Regions from separate parts of the Homo sapiens genome. Here all the other regions are linked to region 2. The links are contacts of gene promoters, found by promoter capture Hi-C in blood cells and fetal thymus (Javierre and others, 2016). All regions are on one chromosome and are shown on one strand. Each heading gives the region's core, a stretch centred on a gene start or on the middle of the fragment in contact. The rest is flanking DNA. Distances are from core to core; before and after follow the strand shown. Region 1 has its middle 290 kb from the start of PKIA. Region 2 holds the start of PEX2 (peroxisomal biogenesis factor 2). Region 3 has its middle 280 kb from the start of PKIA.

Region 1 (2,700 bases), core at 74-2,573, 1.2 Mb after region 2:
AAGAAGGAGTAAAGCATGCCTTACATGGCATCAGGCAAGAGAGTGTGTTCAGAGGAACTGCCCTTTATAAAACCATCAAATCTTGTGAGACTTATTCACTATCATGACAACAGCATGAGAAAACCTACCTCATAATTAAATTACTTCTCACTGGCTCCTTCCCATGAAATATGGGAATCATGGGAGCTATAATTCAAGATGAGATTTGGGTGGGGACAACGCCAAACCGTATCATGTATATTATAAATTCTCCCTAATTGATCTACCCTGTTGAAGAAATGGAGAATGATGAACAAAAATAAAATGTTATAATGTTGGTGGAGAATTACCTTAAGTAAAGAAAAAGAAGGAATGTGGGGAAAATGTGGAAACAGTACAAAAGAAGCATAATTATGGAAGAAAGATAAAAGTCTGGACATTTTTGATCAGTAATATAGTATAAAATGAAACCTGTTAAAATTTCCCTCTGTGTTACATATTATATTGGCAAATATTTCTCTCTCTCTCTCTCTCAGACACACAGAGAGAGAGAGAGAGTGTGTGTGTGCGTGTGTGTATTTTTGAAAGGGCTCCATCAGTAGATAAAAATAAGGTTCATTAGGCTTTTAAAAATAACTTGTCTCCAATTATCTGCCATAGCTTTGCTTTTCTCGACATGCTCCCTCAAGAGGATATGGACAAGTCCTTCTGGATCACAGACACTTGAAAAGCAGAAGGAAAAGAGGAAGGAAGAGTGGGAATGAATATGTATGTTGCAAACACTGTTAGAAGACTGGTTAGATTTGAGCCTGTAGCATATATATCATCCCTGTCAATTTTCAAAGTGAATTATCCCAACCAACTATATAATTACATATTTCTCTAAACATAATTTTACCATTTGAATAACTTAGAATTTCAGCTTAGAAAAATTAAAAGGAATAGGGTGGTCATTCAAGAAAAACTATTTACCATGAGATGGTTATTCAAGTATCTCAATCTGTTTATGGAAATACATCATTTTAAAATAGACAGTGGTTAAGTTTTTTGATCATTAAATATGAAAGAAGGGAGTATTTAATAGAATTAGTAACACTTGTAGCCTATCAGACTGCTTTCCAAAAGAAAATGCAATTTAGCAAAATGAGTGTGGTTGGAAACTCAGGCAAGAATAACTACCACTTTCTTCAGATCCACCCAAGACTTATACAGTGGCCATTCCAATTAGCATAATGGTCCAATGTTCAGTGGGATGCAAGGTCCTTTGTTAGGGATGCTTCCTCATTTAAAAAACCTGTTTGAAGTGGGGTCTAATTTTAACTTTGCAATGCCAAAATATGGCTTGAAGGGTCTATTTTCAATTCAATAAATGTTGGTATTGCATTTCCAAGTTGAGATAGCTGTCATCAACTGTCTAAAAGACTCATATTTAAGACAAAATGGAGTGACAGAGTATGGAGTACCAGGCTTAAAAAGCTGGTTCTCTGTTCATGTTAATTATACTGAATTGATTATTTATTCTATTAGAATGCTTCTTATTTACAAATGAAGTGCATGTACTAATAGGAATCCCCAAGCTCACTGTAAATGTTACCTGAAGATTAAGAAAATGGAATTAAGAATTTCTTTCCAGTAAATTGTTAAAATATATCTATGAACCCCAAGTGCAAAAGTGGCTTTAGTTGTTTTTATTTTTGTTTAAAAGTTGTGGGTAATATGAACACATGGGTGATTTCAAAGCACTACAGAGAAGTGCTTTAAAAAATTGTTATTCATAGCCCCGCCATTGGTAAGCTAAAATTGTTGCCTTATTTTTATAAATGAGAAAGAACCAGCTATTTGGCAACTCTCTAAGCTAGAGTCAACAATAGTAAGTACATGATGCATCCAGGATAAAAATAAACAAGACCTCTCATTTTCCAGTCACACCATGAGTCACTTTGCTCCAGACAACATTTAAAATGCTAAAATTTTGACCAAATTTATACAGATGAGGGATCCTTGGAAAACAATTATGATAGACATTATAGAAAATATATCAAAAAATGTAGCCAGTAAAAAAAGGCAGTGTTATATTTAACATGTTACTATTGGTGCAGCATAGTAAAGAGAGTGCTTCTCAATCATGACTGGTGTGGTGATCAGTCTCTTAGATGACTCCAGTGATCCCTGCCTTCTTGTGTTCATGCTCATCTATAATCCCCTCCCTTTGAGTGAAGATTGGAGTTGGTAACTTGTTTCAAGTGAACAGAATGTGCAGAGAATGTGATAAAGTAATGAAATGTCACTTTGCCATATTGTGAGTTGGTCTGTGGAGAAACCCGTATGGCAAGGCACTGAGGGAGGCCTCTCGCCAATTTTCAGTAAGGACCCAAGGCCCTCCATATAATAACCGAAGAGCCACTGAATCCTTGCAACAGTCATATGAGTCGCTTTGGACACAGTTTTCCCCCAGTCAAGCCTTCAGATGATACCTGATGTGGTTTGGATGTTTTCTCCCCTCCAAATCTCATGTTGAAATGTGATTGCCCATGTTAGAGGGCAAGCCTGGTGGAAAATGTTTAGGTCATGGGAGTGGATCCCTCATGAATGGTTTGGTGCTGTCTTCATGGTAATGAGTGATTTCCCACACTTCAGTGTCACTGAAGTGTGACACCTGCCCCCCTTCTTTTCCTCCCTCTCTTGCCATATGATGCACTGGTTCTCCCTTCGCCTTTCACC
Region 2 (2,700 bases), core at 107-2,606:
TTGCTTTGTCTCTCCCTGCACGGCTCCAGAAAATTTCTACACAAGTTCTCCTATGGAACAGTTTTAAAACCCCAGCTTGAGTACTAACACTAGTTTCTAAAAATAAGGAGAATACGGCCAAGAGGTAAAATTGTACAAAGGCAACTAGAGTCAGGACTAGAATCCAACTGTCTTGATTTAGTCTAATACTCTTCAGTCTACTAGTCTAGTATTCGCTCTATGTCCTGTTACTTCTATTTTTTTTTTTAAGAAAAAAATATGAAGGGTTTTTTTTTTTGACTCTGTAAATAATTCTTTCAAATCTCTTTCTGGCTCAAGATCACTCAACTGTAATCTTTCTGGAAACAAGTAATTGATAATATAGGTGAGATCAGATAAGTTAAAAGAGCCACCCCAAGTTCATTCTGTTCAGGATTAAGTAAAGGTAACACTTTAGGGGAAGGTGTTTAGACTACAAGCTGCGGTGTTGTGAGCGCCCAAGTATCATTTAATTGTCCGAAACGTCAAGATAAAATATTTCCGAGGGGCATCACGGAAGTTTAACAGAATGTGTTAGACTTGAACGTTCAACAGCTTGCTCATTTTGCCAAAAGCCCTTTCACTAAATGTGGGAAATTTGGAAAATGGTACCTCAATAAATAAACAAACAACGATTTTTAATTTAAGAACCCAGGAAAAAATGTTAACAATTCTCACATTCAGATTTCTTATCAAAAGTCAACGTGAAATATAACTAATTTATCGCAAGCAATTTTATCAGAAACTTTTCATTATCTCTTCCTCCATAAGAAAACCAAACTGCATTTACGTGCGCTTTCAACAGTGTTAGAAAACTAAGCACTCAAATTTTTTGTACTACATATAACACTTTACATGAACTTTCAGATATTAAGTAAAGTTTGGATCCTCAATTCTTTATAAAGCCGTTTATAAGAGGTAAATATCTTCACGACCGCCAAATGAGAGAAAAAGATTTCGAAGTTCGTCTCTTAAGTTACTACGTGGAATGCAGAGGGGCTCAACTGCAGCTGTGTGTGTGTTTATTTTTAATGCCGCGATCCTAAAAACATCTTTAGGAGTTTAGGTTTGCTTCACTGCCTTTCCCAAAATTCAGCAGCTTTGATTTGCCTTTTCCAGGGAGACAGGAAGCCAATAAACAGGGAAAAAAAAGCAAACGGCGACAATTACAAGGTCGTGAAACTCCACGACCTCCCAGCTGAAAACAAGACCTCGGGTTTGCACTCCGGCTCTCTAGGGCAGACACTGACCTTAGGAGTCTGCGAAACGCCCACGCTCCACGTAACTTTCTCTGAAACATTCTCTGGAAAGCTTGTCTTTTCCTAGCCGAATCTGGATTACCAAGGCTTCCGGAACTCGCAGGCTTCCGGAGCGACGCAGGAGCCGGAAGTGGCTGAAAAAAAAAAGAAAAAGTTACACCAACGAGAACTGCGCTTTAGCGGCGCTGCTGAAGGCACTGGATGGCCAAACAACCGCGAACGCCGACAAGCCGAAGAGCCGAAGGGCCGAAAAGCCGAAGCGGACACCCGCGCGCGGTGATTGGCCGGTTGGCCGGAAGAACTCTGTCTCTGATTGGCAGGAGAGTCACGAACCGGTCAGCCCCGGGTCAGGGGCCGCAAGTGAGGACACTACAAGTGTCGAGGGGCCTAGGGGAAGCCGGGGCTTGGGAGGGCAGGGCTTTCTCTGCTTGCGGACATCGCGAAGGGCCTCTGGCAGGCGCCGCCGGGTGGCGGCGAGACGCCTCCGCGCCTCCGGGGTTCCTTGTTCGCTGTCGGAGGAGGACCGGCTGAGGGATGGCCTGGTGGGGAGGGAGCCCTCGGGCAGGTGGCTGCGTCGGGCCTGGGGCAGTTGTGCTGCGCTTGGAGACCTGCCCGCCCTCGGGGCCTGTGTGCACAGGGAGGATAGGCTGTTTATCTCTGCAGGCTCAGGAAGGCAGGTAGCTGGCCCGTCAGTCATCCGCCCTGCAAAGCGCTCCCGAGAGACCCCGTAGAGCGGGCCAGCGCGCGCCTGGCCTGAGGTTTCCCGCCCCCGGAGGCCCTCACATCTCCCCGGTAACGCTTAGGAATTCGGGCAGCCAGCTCGCCTACCCCTGGGGAATCGAGGCAGAGCTTCTGGGAATGGGGTCTGAGGGAAGAGTGCTCACCAGGCAGTGACATGTAGCCGTTGAGGATCGCCACTGCCTTCTCGTTCTGTGGTATGAATGGCAGTGTCTCTCTAGAGAGTTAGTGCTTAAGTTTGAATGATGGCAGGCACTTCAGGATTCCAGCACGTAGTAGGGTTTAAGAACGTCTTAGTTCTTACCTCCAGTCTCGACTCACCGTTCCTACAAGGAACACTCACTTCTACGAAAGCTCTATTAGACATTCGAGGGAGAGCTTATACTGTAGAACCAGTGTTATTAGGAAAGTTTTTTTTTTTTTGCTTGTATTTTTATTTCAGAAACTACCCATGGAGCAGAGTTGCTAAAATAAAATTTATTAACTCTAATGCTATCCAAATTGTGAAACAATGGTACAAATGAGATAGAGTAGAAGCTACAAATTGATAGAGTATGTAGTTCACTTAGGGGTTTGGGAGTGGATTTTCTAGAGCTGCAACTGTCCAGTGTAGTAGTCACTGGCCACCTGAAAAGTGGCTAGTCTGAACTGAGGTCTGCTCTAAGTGTAGAACATGCACCAGATT
Region 3 (2,700 bases), core at 174-2,673, 1.2 Mb after region 2:
CATTGTGTACTCTAAGCTATATAAAATATTCTAAAAGGTTAAATAATGTCTTCATGACCTTGAATTCTTTTTAGCACACTCCCACAGGTAAATATGGGCCACTTATTTATTTACTTACTTATTTTGTCATTCAAGCCCCTTCACCTTCTGGATTGATCATTTCCTCTCAAGTAACAGCCATGTACCCAAACCACATCCAAATTGAACTTCACCTCTTCTTTCTTCATCCATGCTTCATTCTCTGCCTAGTATGCCCCATCCTTACCTCACTTCACTCCACCATGGATTTTTGCTGACCCCTTTATACACTTTACTCAGCATTCAGTCCAAGCCTTCTCAAATTCTCAGAGGCATGTCAGTGGTTGGAGTCTTTGAGACTTAAAGTGAACATCTACAGCACCAATTTTAGCTTTTTACACATCCATTCTTCTATTTGCATGTGAGGTCCACATGGGCATGCCTGTATCTTAATTTTCTTTTCAAACTCTGTATGCAGAGGATTGCCTAAACTACAGTTGCCATATAGTGGGTATTCAACTAATATATGGGATTGGTTAATGAAGAACTGAAATGTATTGTATATAAAGATATTCTTTGTTTCAAAAACCAATCGTGAAAATAAAAGGATGACAAGGCATAGTCTTCAGAGAAATTCAGATAAAACTAAATGAAAGATGATTAATTGACCGTAATTCAAAATGTGTCAAGAGAGTGTCTAAGCTTATTTAAAAAGTGTGTCTATACCAGGGTTATCCTTATAGACATCCAATGGCTTAAAATGAGATAAATGATCAACTGGTTTTACCTTGCATAAGTCAGATCACTTCCAGAACATTGTGTTCAGTGACTGAACCACATTGACATGAACAAACTAAAGTCCTATCAGATGCAACCTATCTGTGTCTGGTGAGTAAATGCTTTACTGTAGAGTTTAAGAACACATTGAAGGATTTAGAGAAATTTAGTGAGAAGAAGAGATGACTGTAAAATATGTCAATAATTTATATATGGATAAAGGATTTTTTTTTCTGTACAACTCTAAGGAGCAGAACTAGAACAATGAATGAATAGTTGCTATAGGTAAAATCCACCAAGTAAATTAAAGAGGGAAAAAGAATTTTCATTCAGTGATATGCCAGGAATTTGCATCTACTTCATATCATTTAATCTTTAAACAGCCCTGAGAGCAAATTATTATCTTCCTCTGAGGAAAATAAGGTTTGATGAGATTATCTTAAAAGGATGTATTCATTTGGTCATGCTGTCTGTTATCGGGAATTTCAAATTGAAAGCAATGGAGTATCTATCATGGGAAAATGAAAGGCTGTTCTACTGCAAACAGACAAAAAAAAGCATCTGCTCCTTTTAAAAATGTTTTAATGTAAGCAGGATTCTTCAGCAACTATGGCTGTGCCATATCCAATATTTGTTAAATAAAAATTTAAAAGTAGGCAACACAAATGTCCAAATATCAAAAATTAGAACACTAAATGTAAATGTACTTTTTTAAGTCTGTAATCAAATGCTGAGAGCAAGATTTCAACAAACTGAGCACATGGGGGGGAAGAAAGAGAAAGAGAGAGGGAGATGAGAGATACGTAAGTTCTATGACTATAGAGAACTAGTTTATTTGTTCACTGCAGTGTACCCAGAACCTAGGAGTGTTCTTACACATTTTAAATATTTAATTAGTATTTAACCAGATATGGAAAAGAAGGCTGGATAACTACTTGTTAAAGGGATTAAAAAAATACAGAAAAGTACTTGTTAAAATGTCACTTAAGGTTCTAAAATTCTTTAGTATACAGCCCTCTCACATGAAAGTTAGGATTTATTAAATATAGTATATGAAGAAACCAGAGGGGCCAACAGTTACAAAATTAGGGTATATGTATGTAAATGGATTTCAAATTGGTATGAGAGTCTATCAAGAACGAAGTTTCAGAAAAAATAACAGAATATGCTTTTAAAGGCACTGCTCTTTCTGTGAGCACTACAGAAACACACTGAAGGGGAGAACAAAGGTCTTTTTTTTGTTTTTGTTTTTGTTTTTGTTTTTGTTTTTGTTTTTGAGGTTGAGTCTCTGTCACTCGAGCTGGAGTGCAGAAGCATGATCCCAGCTCCTTGAAGCTTCAACCTTCCAGGCTCAAGCCATCCTCCTGCCTCAGCCTGAGTAGCTGGGATTATAAGCATGCACCACCACTCCCAGCTAATTTTGTTTATATTTTATAAAGACAGGGTCTCACTATGTTGCCCAGGCTGGTCTCAAATTCATGGACTCAAGCAGTCCTCCCACCTCAGCCTCCCAAAGGGTTGGGATTATAGATGTGCACCACCACGCCTGGAGAGAACAAAGGAGTTAATTTTTAGGTAGCATATGTGAGTTAAACTCTTTTACTTTCAATCATCCTCAAAACATAAAATAAATGGAATACAAAAGGCAATATAAGCATTTGAGATTGTTGAAGCTTCTTAATATTTGCAACTCTTAAACCAAAAATATCCAATAAATTGGCTTCAATTAAATATATACATATATATACAAAGTTACCTGTTGTAAACTAATACTTTTCCTTCAAATAAATATCATTCTAAAAAACAGGATTATCATAGGCAAAAATCATAAAATCATAATAATTTTGGCTAACAAGACATTGACATTATAGCTTTTTTGCATACTAAAAAAGGAGTCTGAAAGAT

What was found. Contacts are between HindIII fragments. The CHiCAGO score rates a contact against its expected background, and 5 or more counts as called.
Region 1: a fragment that was not itself captured here is called in contact with the fragment with the promoter of PEX2 in region 2 in 1 of 17 cell types (monocytes); the score reaches 8.6 in monocytes.
Region 3: a contact is called between a fragment that was not itself captured here and the fragment with the promoter of PEX2 in region 2, in 2 of 17 cell types (megakaryocytes and monocytes). The highest score is 8.0, in megakaryocytes.

What each region holds. Positions count from the first base shown.
Region 1 is chr8:78,221,217-78,223,916 of GRCh38, forward strand. No RefSeq gene overlaps it. Among named protein-coding and RNA genes, the nearest start is that of PKIA, 290 kb to the right of the region's middle. The HindIII fragment of the contact is 4,524 bases long and covers 1-2,700 here.
Region 2 is chr8:76,998,722-77,001,421 of GRCh38, forward strand. PEX2 (peroxisomal biogenesis factor 2) reads right to left here and starts at 1,357. Exons shown (of 4, transcript NM_000318.3): 1 at 1,269-1,357. RefSeq lists an enhancer at 1,352-1,646. The HindIII fragment of the contact is 1,935 bases long and covers 1,328-2,700 here.
Region 3 is chr8:78,238,797-78,241,496 of GRCh38, forward strand. No RefSeq gene overlaps it. Among named protein-coding and RNA genes, the nearest start is that of PKIA, 280 kb to the right of the region's middle. The HindIII fragment of the contact is 1,410 bases long and covers 719-2,128 here.